Regions from separate parts of the Homo sapiens genome. Here all the other regions are linked to region 2. Evidence: promoter capture Hi-C in 16 types of primary human blood cells and fetal thymus (Javierre and others, 2016). All regions are on one chromosome and are shown on one strand. The core of a region is centred on a gene start or on the middle of the fragment in contact, and the rest is flanking DNA. Distances in the headings are between cores, read along the strand shown. Region 1 overlaps UTY (ubiquitously transcribed tetratricopeptide repeat containing, Y-linked). Region 2 holds the start of UTY (ubiquitously transcribed tetratricopeptide repeat containing, Y-linked). Region 3 overlaps UTY (ubiquitously transcribed tetratricopeptide repeat containing, Y-linked).

The links. The method cuts DNA at HindIII sites, captures the fragments that hold promoters and counts their contacts. A CHiCAGO score of 5 or more calls a contact.
Region 1: a contact is called between a fragment that was not itself captured here and the fragment with the promoter of UTY in region 2, in 1 of 17 cell types (megakaryocytes). The highest score is 6.8, in megakaryocytes.
Region 3: a contact is called between a fragment that was not itself captured here and the fragment with the promoter of UTY in region 2, in 1 of 17 cell types (megakaryocytes). The highest score is 6.0, in megakaryocytes.

What each region holds. Positions count from the first base shown.
Region 1 is chrY:13,422,314-13,426,608 of GRCh38, reverse strand. All of the region lies in intron 4 of UTY (ubiquitously transcribed tetratricopeptide repeat containing, Y-linked), which reads left to right. Among named protein-coding and RNA genes, the nearest start is that of MIR12120, 55 kb to the left of the region's middle. The HindIII fragment of the contact is 332 bases long and covers 2,845-3,176 here.
Region 2 is chrY:13,478,200-13,482,031 of GRCh38, reverse strand. It overlaps UTY (ubiquitously transcribed tetratricopeptide repeat containing, Y-linked), which reads left to right and starts at 1,999. Exons shown (of 30, transcript NM_001258249.2): 1 at 1,999-2,518; 2 at 2,715-2,778. The coding sequence starts at 2,367. MIR12120 (microRNA 12120) reads right to left here and starts at 2,855; the gene lies at 2,766-2,855. The HindIII fragment of the contact is 7,265 bases long and covers 1-3,506 here.
Region 3 is chrY:13,439,722-13,443,431 of GRCh38, reverse strand. All of the region lies in intron 4 of UTY (ubiquitously transcribed tetratricopeptide repeat containing, Y-linked), which reads left to right. Among named protein-coding and RNA genes, the nearest start is that of MIR12120, 38 kb to the left of the region's middle. The HindIII fragment of the contact is 1,894 bases long and covers 1,333-3,226 here.

The sequences.
Region 1 (4,295 bases), core at 1,761-4,260, 56 kb after region 2:
ATTGAATGCGATATTTCTTTTTTCCCTTCACTTCGAGTATTATTTTGCTTTGTTTTGAGTTTTGATAATTCGATATTGATGTGCCTTGTGTATTTTGTTTTTGGATCGAATTTATTTGGTTACTGCTGAGCTTCTTTACTTGGTGGTGCCATGTTTCTCTAGCATTATGAAATTATTTTCCTAAATACACATCCTAGGCCTGTCTCTTTCAGGAATGTTTATTATGTGGAGGCTTTTTTTATGTGATAATTACCCATAATTCTTGTAAGCCCTCTATTTTTGCACCTTTGTGTAATTTCACATGGTCTTTCTTGATGCTTGGTAATTCTTCCTTCATTTTTCAAAGTCTGCTTTTGAAAGTGTCTGATTTTTTTTTCTGTTCAGTTATTGCATTCTTTATTTTTAGTATTTCTGTTTGGTTTGTTTTTTTATTTATTCGTGTCAATTTTCTTATTTTTTTTTCCTGGCTTGTTGTCCAGGTTTCATTTACTTTTCTTTCTCTGTTTTCTTGTGATTATCTGAACCTCAGGAGGGTTATTCTGAATTCTCCATCTGACATCTTATAGATCTTCACTTCTTTTGGGTACATTGCTGGAGCATTGTTGGTTTCTTTTGGTTGTATCTGTTTCCTTCAGTTTCTGCAATCATTGTGACTTTATGTAGATGCTGCACCTTTGAGGAAATAGCCTCCTCTTCCAGTTTTTGCAAGTGTTCTTTGGTGGTTTAGACCTTTACTACTTAGTATTGCAAATAAACACTGGACTGTTTTCTTTTCCCATTTTGGAGAAGACTCATAGTGACCACCAGAACTAAAACATTGGACAGGAACAAACTCATTGCCCTGTAGGTAGGTGGTTCCTAGTTTGGGGAACTTACAGTGAACACAAAATATTAAATGCTGCTGCAAAACTAAATTGCTACTCTGTTATGTTCCCCTTCTGGGGAAGACTTAAATAGTTACTGGAACTTAATGCTGACCTTTTGCTCATTTCCAGACGAGGGAAAGACTGCTTTGGATATCGAGGCCCTGTGGAAAATCTCAACAGAAATTTGGACCTTACTGCATATTGTGCCCCTTGTAGTACCTTGGTGCCAACTGGTCTCTTTAATGTGTTTCTCCTTCTGTTTGTAGTTCAAAGTATTCACCAGGATTCTTTCACCAGTCAGTGTGGTCCACAATCTGTTGTCTGTCCCCAGTTCACTCCAGGTGGGTCAGGCTTTCTGGCATTCCTAGTAGTTCTTGTGGGATAGGACCAAAGTGTGTTTTCTGTGAAGATTCTGAGATGGTAGAGGATGTAGAATGTTTACATCCACTTTCCTCCTCTCACCTTCGAAACTGTGGTTCTGGGGAAGTTTTCTGAGAGTATTTATGCTTGCTTGGGAGAGAGGAGAGCACAGTCTAAAACAATGATTTTCCTTGCCAGTTGCAGAATGTGGTTTTAATTAGCATTTTATTTGTGACTAATGATATTAAACATCTTTTCATGTGCTTATTTGCCTCTTTAGTGCATTTTTTGATAATGTGTATATGTGTCTGTGTTTTGCCTAAATTCTAATGAATTGTTTTGAAACTGCTGAGTTTTGAGAGTTCTTTATTGATTCTATTTACTAGTACTTCGTGGGATATGTGGTTTGTGACTACTTTCTCCCTGTTTGTTTTTTGTCTTTTCATCCACTGAATACTGGGTTTTCTTTAAGTACATTGGAATAATATTACTTTTGATAGTCTATAATTTCATGAATTTGTTTTTCACTTTGATGTCTGGAACATAGTTTTCTTTTTGTTAGCTTTTCCTATGTTTTTAGAGACAAGGTCTTAGTACATTGCCTAGGCTGCTCTTGAACTCCTGGGCCTAGGCAGTCCTCTTGTCTCTCTCTGTTTTTTTATTTTGGAGACGGGATCTCTCTCTGTCGCCCAGGCAGGAGTGCAGTGGTGCAGTCTCCGCTAACTGCAAGCTCTGCCCCCCGGGTTCAAGCGATTCTCCTGCCTCAGCCTCCTGAGCAGCTGGTACTACAGGCATCCACCACCACATCCAGCTAATTTTTGTATTTTTAGTAGAGACAGGATTTCACTGTGTTAGCCAGGATGGTCTTGACCTCCTGACCTCTTGGTCCGCCCGCCTCCAAAGTGATGGGATTACCTACATGAGCCACCATGCCCAGCCTCTGGTGGTTTTTGTTTTGTTTTGTCTTGTTTTGTTTTGAGATGGAGTTTTGCTCTGTCACCCAGGCTGGAGTGCAGTGGCACAATCTCAGCTCACTGCAACCTCCACCTCCTGGGTTCAAGCAATTCTTGTGCCTCAGCCTCCCGAGTAGCTGGGACTATAGACGTGCCCCTCCATGCCCAGTTAATTTTTGTATATTTAGTAGATACGGGGTTTAACTGCGTTGGCCAGGCTGGTCTCAAACTCCCGACCTCGTGATCTGTCCACCTCGGCCCTCCAAAGTGATGGAGTTACAGGCATGAGCCACCACATCCAGCCATTCTCTCTCTATATTTTTAAAGCAGGCCTTCTTGTGTAAGTGGGTGAATGTGCATAGTGAAGTTTCTAGTGGAGTTTGTTGATACTCTCTTTAGGGTTAGGTGAAAGCTGGACATTGTTATCTTTTAGAGCATGAGGATGTAGTAACTGAGGTGAGTTCCCTTCTGGGCTCTTCTGATGGAAGGGAAGGTTGGGGCAATCAGAATGCCAACTATGGTCTGCCCAATTCTGCCTGGTTGATGCTAGTAGTATGTAGTGACACAACTTCCTGTTGGGCCTTGCTAACAGGTATAAAAAAAGAGGTTGCAAACTTCCAAATAACTTCAGTGCCCCTGTTCTTTTCTCCCACATAAATAAAGCTTATCTCTCCACAGGGCCCTCTTTATAATATCCTGCTGGGTGAAATGGAGTACTGCCTACTTTCACTAGATGGAGATATACAATTAACTCCAATTTCATTATTTACTGACACCATCTGGTTAGAAAAATTGGAGCACTGCCTGGTTCAAATGACAAAGGGGTAGTACGTCAGCTTTTGGTTCGGCCTTGCCTAAAATACCCTGTAGTGGAATCTTTGTGCCATAATCTGCTTCTACTTTGTAGAGAATGAAAGATTTACTCATCTCTTTGTTGATACTCCAGAAGAATCCGGAGTACCAGTTCCCTTTGCCAGCAAAGGATGGAAGATAAGCTTTTGGCTTGTTCTGCTGACACTGCTCTGCTGGGAAATTGTGGTATGCAGTCTGCTTCCTAGTGGTAATTGGGATAAGAATATCAGTTTCCTTTTTAGCCCTATTGCAGCCGTATTATGTCTGTGCGTGGTGGAGTGTAGGAGAATGCAACTGTACTTTTTTTACCCTGTGGTTTCTGGCAGTGTTGTGGATAAGTTTTCAGTTTCTATGCCATTCTTTTCCTGGTGTTTTGGCTAGGAGTAATAGGATTTTTTTAGTGGCCTGGGTTGGAGCCTTCAGCAATACCCTGTCTGTAACATATAGAAGGCAACAAGGAAAAACGGGCACTTGCCATATTGTCATTCTTTGAGTCCCAATGTCTGTATGCAGTCCTGCTTCTGGTTTTATCTTAAGAATTTTGAGATGGGTCCTGAAGAGTACTCAGTCCTCATACTGGTAATTCCCAAACACTTAGGTGAGATCTTTAATTCACTGCTCTCTATGTGCATATTTTTCCAGTCTGTTTGATGATAGTAGTTATGGATCTTGGTTTTGTAGACATTGTTCTCTCTGGTTCTTTCAATAGCTTTTTCCCTGATATTGGTAATTTTCTTAAGAAGAGTTTAAACCACTTCAGATCTCTGAAGCTGCCTTTGTAGCTCTCTACTTTTTAGAATTCTGTCTCAAGATCTCTTGATTAGTTATGTTGGTTTCCTTACACTCACAGATCTAGTTCTTCATCCAAGCAGTCTCCATGGTTTTACCTGCTTTATCTTGTGTCATTGATATTGCCATTACGGAGTTTATATCAGTTGTTTTTACTTTTCATTCAGAGATACTATCTTTCTTAATTGATATACATTATTCAACTTCTCTTTAATGATTCTTTTTTCCCCTTTCAGTTTTTTTGGGAAAACCAAGAAGTCTTTTAGTACCTGTCTTTTAGTGTCCTTCTTTATTGAACTTTGTTTTTATTATTTCTTGAAATCACTTCTAGGCAAATGAAGCTAGTTGGATTTTGATGTGTTCATTTTATTGTGTTTTCATACTGTCTTCTACTTATGCTCAGTTTCTATTTCTCATGGCGAGGGTTGAAGTTTTTTGTAAAATAAGGTATATAGTATGAGCTGTTTTTAAGAAA
Region 2 (3,832 bases), core at 750-3,249:
ATCTATTACTTAAAAAAAGATACCATTTCTTCACTTATAAAGGAACATTTCCCCTAATGCCATTAATAATTAACATTTTTGTAATATCTAATATCTGGAGGTATAACCAGTAAACTATTTGATACATGGAATATTATGCAATTTGTCTTTTGAAAACAGTAATCAACAGAGGCGTTTAATATATATGAGACTTTTTATAGATTCTTTACATAGAAAAATATACACAATTCCTCAACATACATATGCCATATAATATGAGAAAAAAAAATTAATCTTGGGATCCCAAAATCACTAAGTAACGGAAAAGTCAAGCTGGGAACTATGTCACTAAACTTGCCTCCCATTTTATTCCTAAATAAGATACGTACAAAGATAAGAAGCTACATACGTTCCTCACAACGTGCCCACAAGGAAATTCCTTGTGGACAAAGGACAGACCCAACTCAAAGTTATCCCTGTGAGGCGCACAAGAGACAACTGCATATCTGATTGCTTCCTCTGCCTTATTATTTATTTATGTAAAAATACAGAGTTACTAGCCGGACTAAATTCTGTATTCAGTAGGAGGCTGATCAAGGACTCAAAAGCATGCAAACTCTTGTCTCTTATCTACATTTTTTTTTTTTTTTTTTTTTTTGAGACGGAGTTTTGCTCTTGTTGCCCAGGCTGGAATGCAATGGTGCCATCTCGGCTCACCGCAACCTCCGCCTCTTGGGTTCAAGCGATTCGCCTGCCTCAGTCTTCAGAGTAGCTGAGATTACAGGCATGCGCCACCATGCTCTGTTAATTTTGTATTTTTAGTAGAGACGGGGTTTTTCCATGTTGGTGACGCTGGTCTGAAACTCCCAACGTTAGGTCATCTGCCCGCCTCGGCCTCCCAAAGTGCTGGGATTACTGGCGTAAACCACAGCGCCCGACCTGTCTCTTATCTATTTCTAACATGGAAGCCCCCGCTTCGAGCTGTCCCTCTTACCTGACCGAACCAATCATGTTTCCCTAAAACGTACAAAAGCAAGCTGTGCCCTGACCACCTTGGGCAAATGTATCATGGGTAAGTCTTGCAAAATAAACTTTTTAAATTGACTAAGACCTCTCTCAGATATTTGGGGTTCAGAAATAAATTCTTTTACCTATTATTTATAATTTTGGTTACAATTGAGAAAGTAAGAAAAAAGTGGTGTTTTTTTCTTTTCTAAGGGTTACTGCATCTTGAAAGTGTGATGAAGGTCTTAATTATTGTTCTTATAATTCCTGTCCACAGAAGCTCCTACTCTTACTGAGACCTCACGGAATTATCATTATCACAATAGAAATAAACATTTTGGGTTTGTGGAGTAACTTTTTTTTTTTTTTTTTTTTTTGCTCATCGTTTGTTGTTTAGATAATATCATGAACTGATAAATGCAGTTGCCACGTTGATTCCCTAGGGCCTGGCTTACCGACTGAGGTCATAAGATATTATGCCTTCTCTTTAGACTTGGTCAGTGGAGAGGAAATGGGCAAAGAACCAGCCTATGGAGGTGACAAGGCCTTAGGGCCAAAAGTCTTGAGGGTGAAGGTTTAGGGCCTGCGCAGCTTCCCTGCCATGCCCCGCAAGGTCTCGCATTCGCAAGGCTTGTGACAGTGGGAGCCTCATTACGGACTCTCCTAAAGTCCATGGTGTCCTCTTTTCGCATTTGCGCCCCGTGGGTGATGCCCGATGCCGCCCTTCCCATCGCTCTCTTCCCCTTCAAGCGTATCGCAACTGCAAAAACACCCAGCACAGACACTCCATTTTCTATCTTAATGCATTTAACTAGCACAACCTACAGGTTGTTCCATCCCAGAGACTACCCTTTTCTCCATAGACGTGACCATCAACCAACCAGCGGTCAGAATCAGTCAGCCTCTGTCATGTTCCTAGGTCCTTGGCGAACTGGCTGGGCGGGGTCCCAGCAGCCTAGGAGTACAGTGGAGCAATGCCTGACGTAAGTCAACAAAGATCACGTGAGACGAATCAGTCGCCTAGATTGGCTACAACTAAGTGGTTGGGAGCGGGGAGGTCGCGGCGGCTGCGTGGGGTTCGCCCGTGACACAATTACAACTTTGTGCTGGTGCTGGCAAAGTTTGTGATTTTAAGAAATTCTGCTGTGCTCTCCAGCACTGCGAGCTTCTGCCTTCCCTGTAGTTTCCCAGATGTGATCCAGGTAGCCGAGTTCCGCTGCCCGTGCTTCGGTAGCTTAAGTCTTTGCCTCAGCTTTTTTCCTTGCAGCCGCTGAGGAGGCGATAAAATTGGCGTCACAGTCTCAAGCAGCGATTGAAGGCGTCTTTTCAACTACTCGATTAAGGTTGGGTATCGTCGTGGGACTTGGAAATTTGTTGTTTCCATGAAATCCTGCGCAGTGTCGCTCACTACCGCCGCTGTTGCCTTCGGTGATGAGGCAAAGAAAATGGCGGAAGGAAAAGCGAGCCGCGAGAGTGAAGAGGAGTCTGTTAGCCTGACAGTCGAGGAAAGGGAGGCGCTTGGTGGCATGGACAGGTACGCACCTCCATCACCCGCCTGGTTGGCTGGCGATACTCTCCGGGAAGGCCTGGACGCAGCTTGCCCACGTTGATGACGGGGTCATCCTCAGCTTGGCACTCACCAATCTGTCGCTGTCGCTCTTGGACTCGGGAAGGAGCAAGTCACTGGCTTTCTCAGACCATTAACAAGCTCTGTGTCTCTCTCTCTACAGCCGTCTCTTCGGGTTCGTGAGGCTTCATGAAGATGGCGCCAGAACGAAGACCCTACTAGGCAAGGTAAAAGCAACCAGACGCAAAGTCTTTGGTCCGCACTTTGCTCTACCAAGGCCCCGCGTTCCTTACCGCCCAGCCAGTATTTATTTTGGCTCTGCTCCATGGCCAAGGGGTCGGAAAAGTGTTTCTTGCCTTTGCTGTCCCCGTACTCTGGAATACTTCGCCCCTTGCTCCAGACTCCCTTCTACTCTGAGGAAAAAAAAAATCGGACGCTTTGGGACCGGGCTAAACCGGGTCTACACCACATGCCTGTTACTTTAGGGCCTTTTGTTCCTGAATTTTAGCGTCACAAATAGTGAATGTGTACAGTTTTCAAAATTCATAACTTCCTGCTTCTTCCCCTCGCCTTTTGGTATTTGGCTCTTGGTGTCTAATTTTAAACATTTTTTTGCCTTTTTAAAAAAAATATCCCTGGTGTCCTAAGTGTAAGTAGCAAGTAAGTTACAGCGGTGAAGAGTTTGCAGTAGATATTTGACCTATAAACTGATGCGTGTATGTTTAGCCTGAAGTTTAGTGATTTGTTGACTTTTTTAGGATGCACAGTGCTGCAAATGTGATTTCATGAATGTGTGTGCTTTTTCCATTCAGGAACCTTGTTTCTTAGGTGTCATGCTCACAGTGGGAAGAATTTGTTGTTTGTGTGAAAAGTTGGCACTGTCGTTTAGTTAATGGCTGCTCCTATCAGCCAAGATGGCGGGTAAAAAGGGGGAGGAGCAATAAAGGGGGAAGCTTGGGAAGAGGGTGGAGGTATTAACCCGGAAACCTTAGCAAGGAATAGACCGTAAAGAGCGCTGACGTAGCTTCATGTTGCTTATTAAAAATTATTATTATTTAAAAGTAGAATTCTTGCGTTATCTCCAACATTGACAGCAGCATTTTTAAACCTATATGTGCTTATTAATTGCAGCATGTTTAGTTACTCCCACGTGAATTGTTGCGTAACTTGGCCCTGGAATATTCCTGTGTGTATCGTTTTTTACCCTCTCACCAAAATCTTGTTAAAGTATTTGTATGTTGTCAATTGGTCCCGTGAAATAAGAACGGTACAACAATCGCG
Region 3 (3,710 bases), core at 1,030-3,529, 39 kb after region 2:
AAAGACAGTAAATTATTTAACCTGTGACAATTCTGAGAAAGCTTACAATTTAGTTATCTTGACCAGTCAACCTCGAAGCTGGACAGAGCTGGGGTAAGGGAAAACAGGAATGACAGAAATATGCGGGGGTCTGGAGGCAGGCGATAAGCTTGGAAGGTTGAGATAAGCCCGCAGCTGCAACTTGTTAGCAATGCCGGGAAGGGCTACTTAAATTTCTTAGCCTATGTGTAACCTGTACTTAATGTTAACTATTACCTACGTTATGTTTATTATTTTCAACTTTATTGTTTATTTTATTTTATTTTCTTTCCACATTCCCCCCTTTAAAAGCTTTCTTTTAAAAGAAACTATTATTAGAAAGCTTTTACCTGTTCCTGATGATGCACATGCAGCTAGGATGGTAGGACAGAGTCAAAGGCCTGTCAAAAGGCAATTCATCTGTTTGCATGGGGAGTTACTTTGCCGGTGTATCTGCTCTTAGCGTCACTTTTCTTCTTTGTGGGAGCACACTGGCTCTCTGGCTTAATTTTTCTCAGCCTTTGCTGTCCTCCCTGTGGCTGTGCCTGTCTTCTTAGATTGTTCCTATCTTTCAGGGAATCTTCCCCATCATTGACTAACCAGCCACCTACCTGGGGGGCATGATTTTTGGTGTCTTCTCTAGAGAGAAGCACGAGTAAGTCAGCCAGGAGCTGAACTTAGTATTTTCTGTGGCATCATTTGCCTGTGCCTAAGTAGAAGTCAGATTAAACTTCAGCAAGTTATTTTTATAAATGATGTTTAAAGCCTAGCTCTTCTATCCCATACCTATACATGTGTGTTTTATAATCCGTGTAGAACGTAAAGAGGGTGAGGCATGGGAAAGGAAACTACTTTGGAGAAAACCTATGTTAGTTTCATAATTCTCTACCTTCTCATGAGATGAGATTTCTTTGGGTAATGGCTGATACTTAGTGCCATTATTTGGGGGGTGGTGTAGTGGACTGTATCTTCCTAAACAGGAGAGGCAATAAACAAGGGAGTATTAGACAGCTGCCTAATGGAAGTATTACACTTACAAGGAGAGTCTTGAATCCTCCAGAAGATGAAAACCATCCACCAAGAGAGTCTGGGGTCCAACCTTTCCAGGTTTGTACTGGAACGAGAGCTAACTTTCTCAGTTTGGCAGTGATTTCATAACTGCCTACCTGTTGTCATCAATTTCTAAATAACAGTTAATCAGGTTAAATTTACTACAGACCCCTTTTGAATCCAGCAGATAATCTAATGCCAGTCTGTTTTGATAAACCGCATTTCTCATTCTGTGTAGATAGTACATCTAATAAATCTAAAGCTTTAGTTGTTTCTTTAGTTATAATTTTTAATACTGCTTGTAACCTAATGATGTGATTAATCATGTAGATGGGAGTACAGTATCCCCATGATCTATCTTGCACCCAGGTGGCTGGGCCATAATAATTCATTATTCTCTCTGCAATCTGTATCTTTCCAATCCCCTATTTCTATATCTTTTACTGCTCCTTTGTTTTTACTTCTAGGCTCATCATAAATAGGATACCCTAAAGTTTCTCCTTGCTTTAAAGGTAACAGGAAGAACGATGTTTTAGTAACACCTAATACACAAGCTCCTGTCCGTTTTTCTGGCAACCGCCTGTAGGCTTGCTGACCACAGATCCAGTAGAGGCCTACAGGCACTTACCATGTGTTTGGTGTTTCTAGTTGATACCAAGAGTGATTTAAAGAAGGGAACCTAGAAAATGGGATGAAATGAGATGGCCTTGAACTGTTTTTACCCTTTTTATTTTCTCTTTGCCATGGAGTTTTTCCTGTAGTTTCATTGTAGTATTGTTGCCCTAAACAAGCTAATTTGCCTGCTGGGTGTGTATAGGTAGTCCCCCAACGAGGTATGCAGTGTCTTCCTGTAATAGAAGCCTTTAAAAGCCAAGTGCTAGAGCCAGTAGGGATTAATTCTGGAGCATTTGTGGCAGAGAAAATTAAAGTGTAGTTGTCCTGGGGAAGCAATTCTTTTGCCTCCCAATGCCATCTATCCTCCATGTCAGTTACCATGAGGTAACTCCTAGATTTCCTGCTATATTCTTAGCTAATTGCACAGACAGATTTTTAGTGGTAAACGATGGCTCAGAAACTACTTGGTTAATTTCTTCACTGAATGACTTGAAAATTTTAAATCATTGCTGAGGTTTGTGAGCTTGAGTCTTTTTGATAATATAAAATAAAATAATATAAAATATATAATGGTATAATATAAAAATATATGGTGCTGTCGGTAGCCTGCACCCTGGAATATTTAATGCCTCATCTCTTTAGCTTAGGATCTGCCTCCTATTCTGTGGCTTCATCACTGTATCCCTCTGGGACTTCAGTGCCTATTGCCCAATTAGGTGAATCTGATTTGAAATAAGAAATTCAGTGAGGCTACAGGAATTTCCTCTTACACAATTGTCATAGTTATACCAATCTATGGAGAGGTTTCTGGAGAAATGTATGTCTTGAGACTGTGGAGTATCACTAATCCAGTATGGGATATGACTGGTTACAGTCAACTTTCTTTTGGAGTCAGGAATGTAGCAGCCAGTTTTAAGGAGTGTTCTTGTAATCTGGCAGGCATCTAAATACAGATACACACAGTGTTTATTGGTGGAGGGTATCCAGGTTGAATTTTAAAGAGTTCCTTTTTCAGACCTTTCACTAATGTCGAACCAAGTTCCAGGTAGAAGTTTGGGGTCATAGCAGACACAGGGCTGATTATCACCAAGATCACACATTGAATAAGTAGTCTGGTTATGTACACAAATTCCTAGAGAAGCTCCTGTTTGCTTATAAAGGGTTTGATATATAAAGGTTTTAACCTGTGTGTTCCTTGCCCAAGTAGTGTGGGTGCACAGAGAAAACTCAATTGTATTTCCGCCCCCTTTGTAAGTTTGACATATTAGTTAATATAAGCAAAACAGAGAGTAACATCTTCACACTAGGCACAGGCAGGGTATGTTTCTTCCTGAAAGCAAGGGTTGGCAACAATGGCAGTATAACAATAGTACAGCAAATATTACTAGAAGAGCAATAGGTATTAAAATATCAGTCCATATCTACTTTACTCATCTACTTATTTACTACTTTACTTATCTACTTATTTACTTATCTACTTATGAAATATCAGTCCATATCTTACTTATCCATATCCACTTATCTATTGAACACTCCTCAAGCTTTGGTCATGTGTAGAGTAGTCAGCTTCTTATTGTGTGACTACAGCAGGGCTTGGCGATTTTTCATTAACAGTTGGGTCTGAGGTCGGCTGGTCTGGGTTTGGTCTCTGTTGGCACCTCATCTTAGAGTTAGCTTGGTGGGTTGGTCGGGGTCTGGCTGGCTGGTCCACACATCCTAGGCAGCAGCTGGCTAACCCACTATGATGGATCCAGGGAAGCACTTCAGCAACCTTAACAGCAGTGGGGGTAGATAAGATTACTACAAAGGGCTCATTCCATATGTGCCTTAATGTGGATAGGTACCAGTTTTTGACCCAGCCAGAGTCCCTGGGTTTGTTGGTATGGGTGAACTGGGCTAGTTAGGCCTACTGGCAGTCTTCTTGCACCCAGCTTTGCAACTTCTCTCACGGCTGTACCTAAAGCTTGCATTTGCTTTCTCAGTGTTAGTTCCCGTACTTCTTTGAGATCTCCTTTAATTTGGAAAAT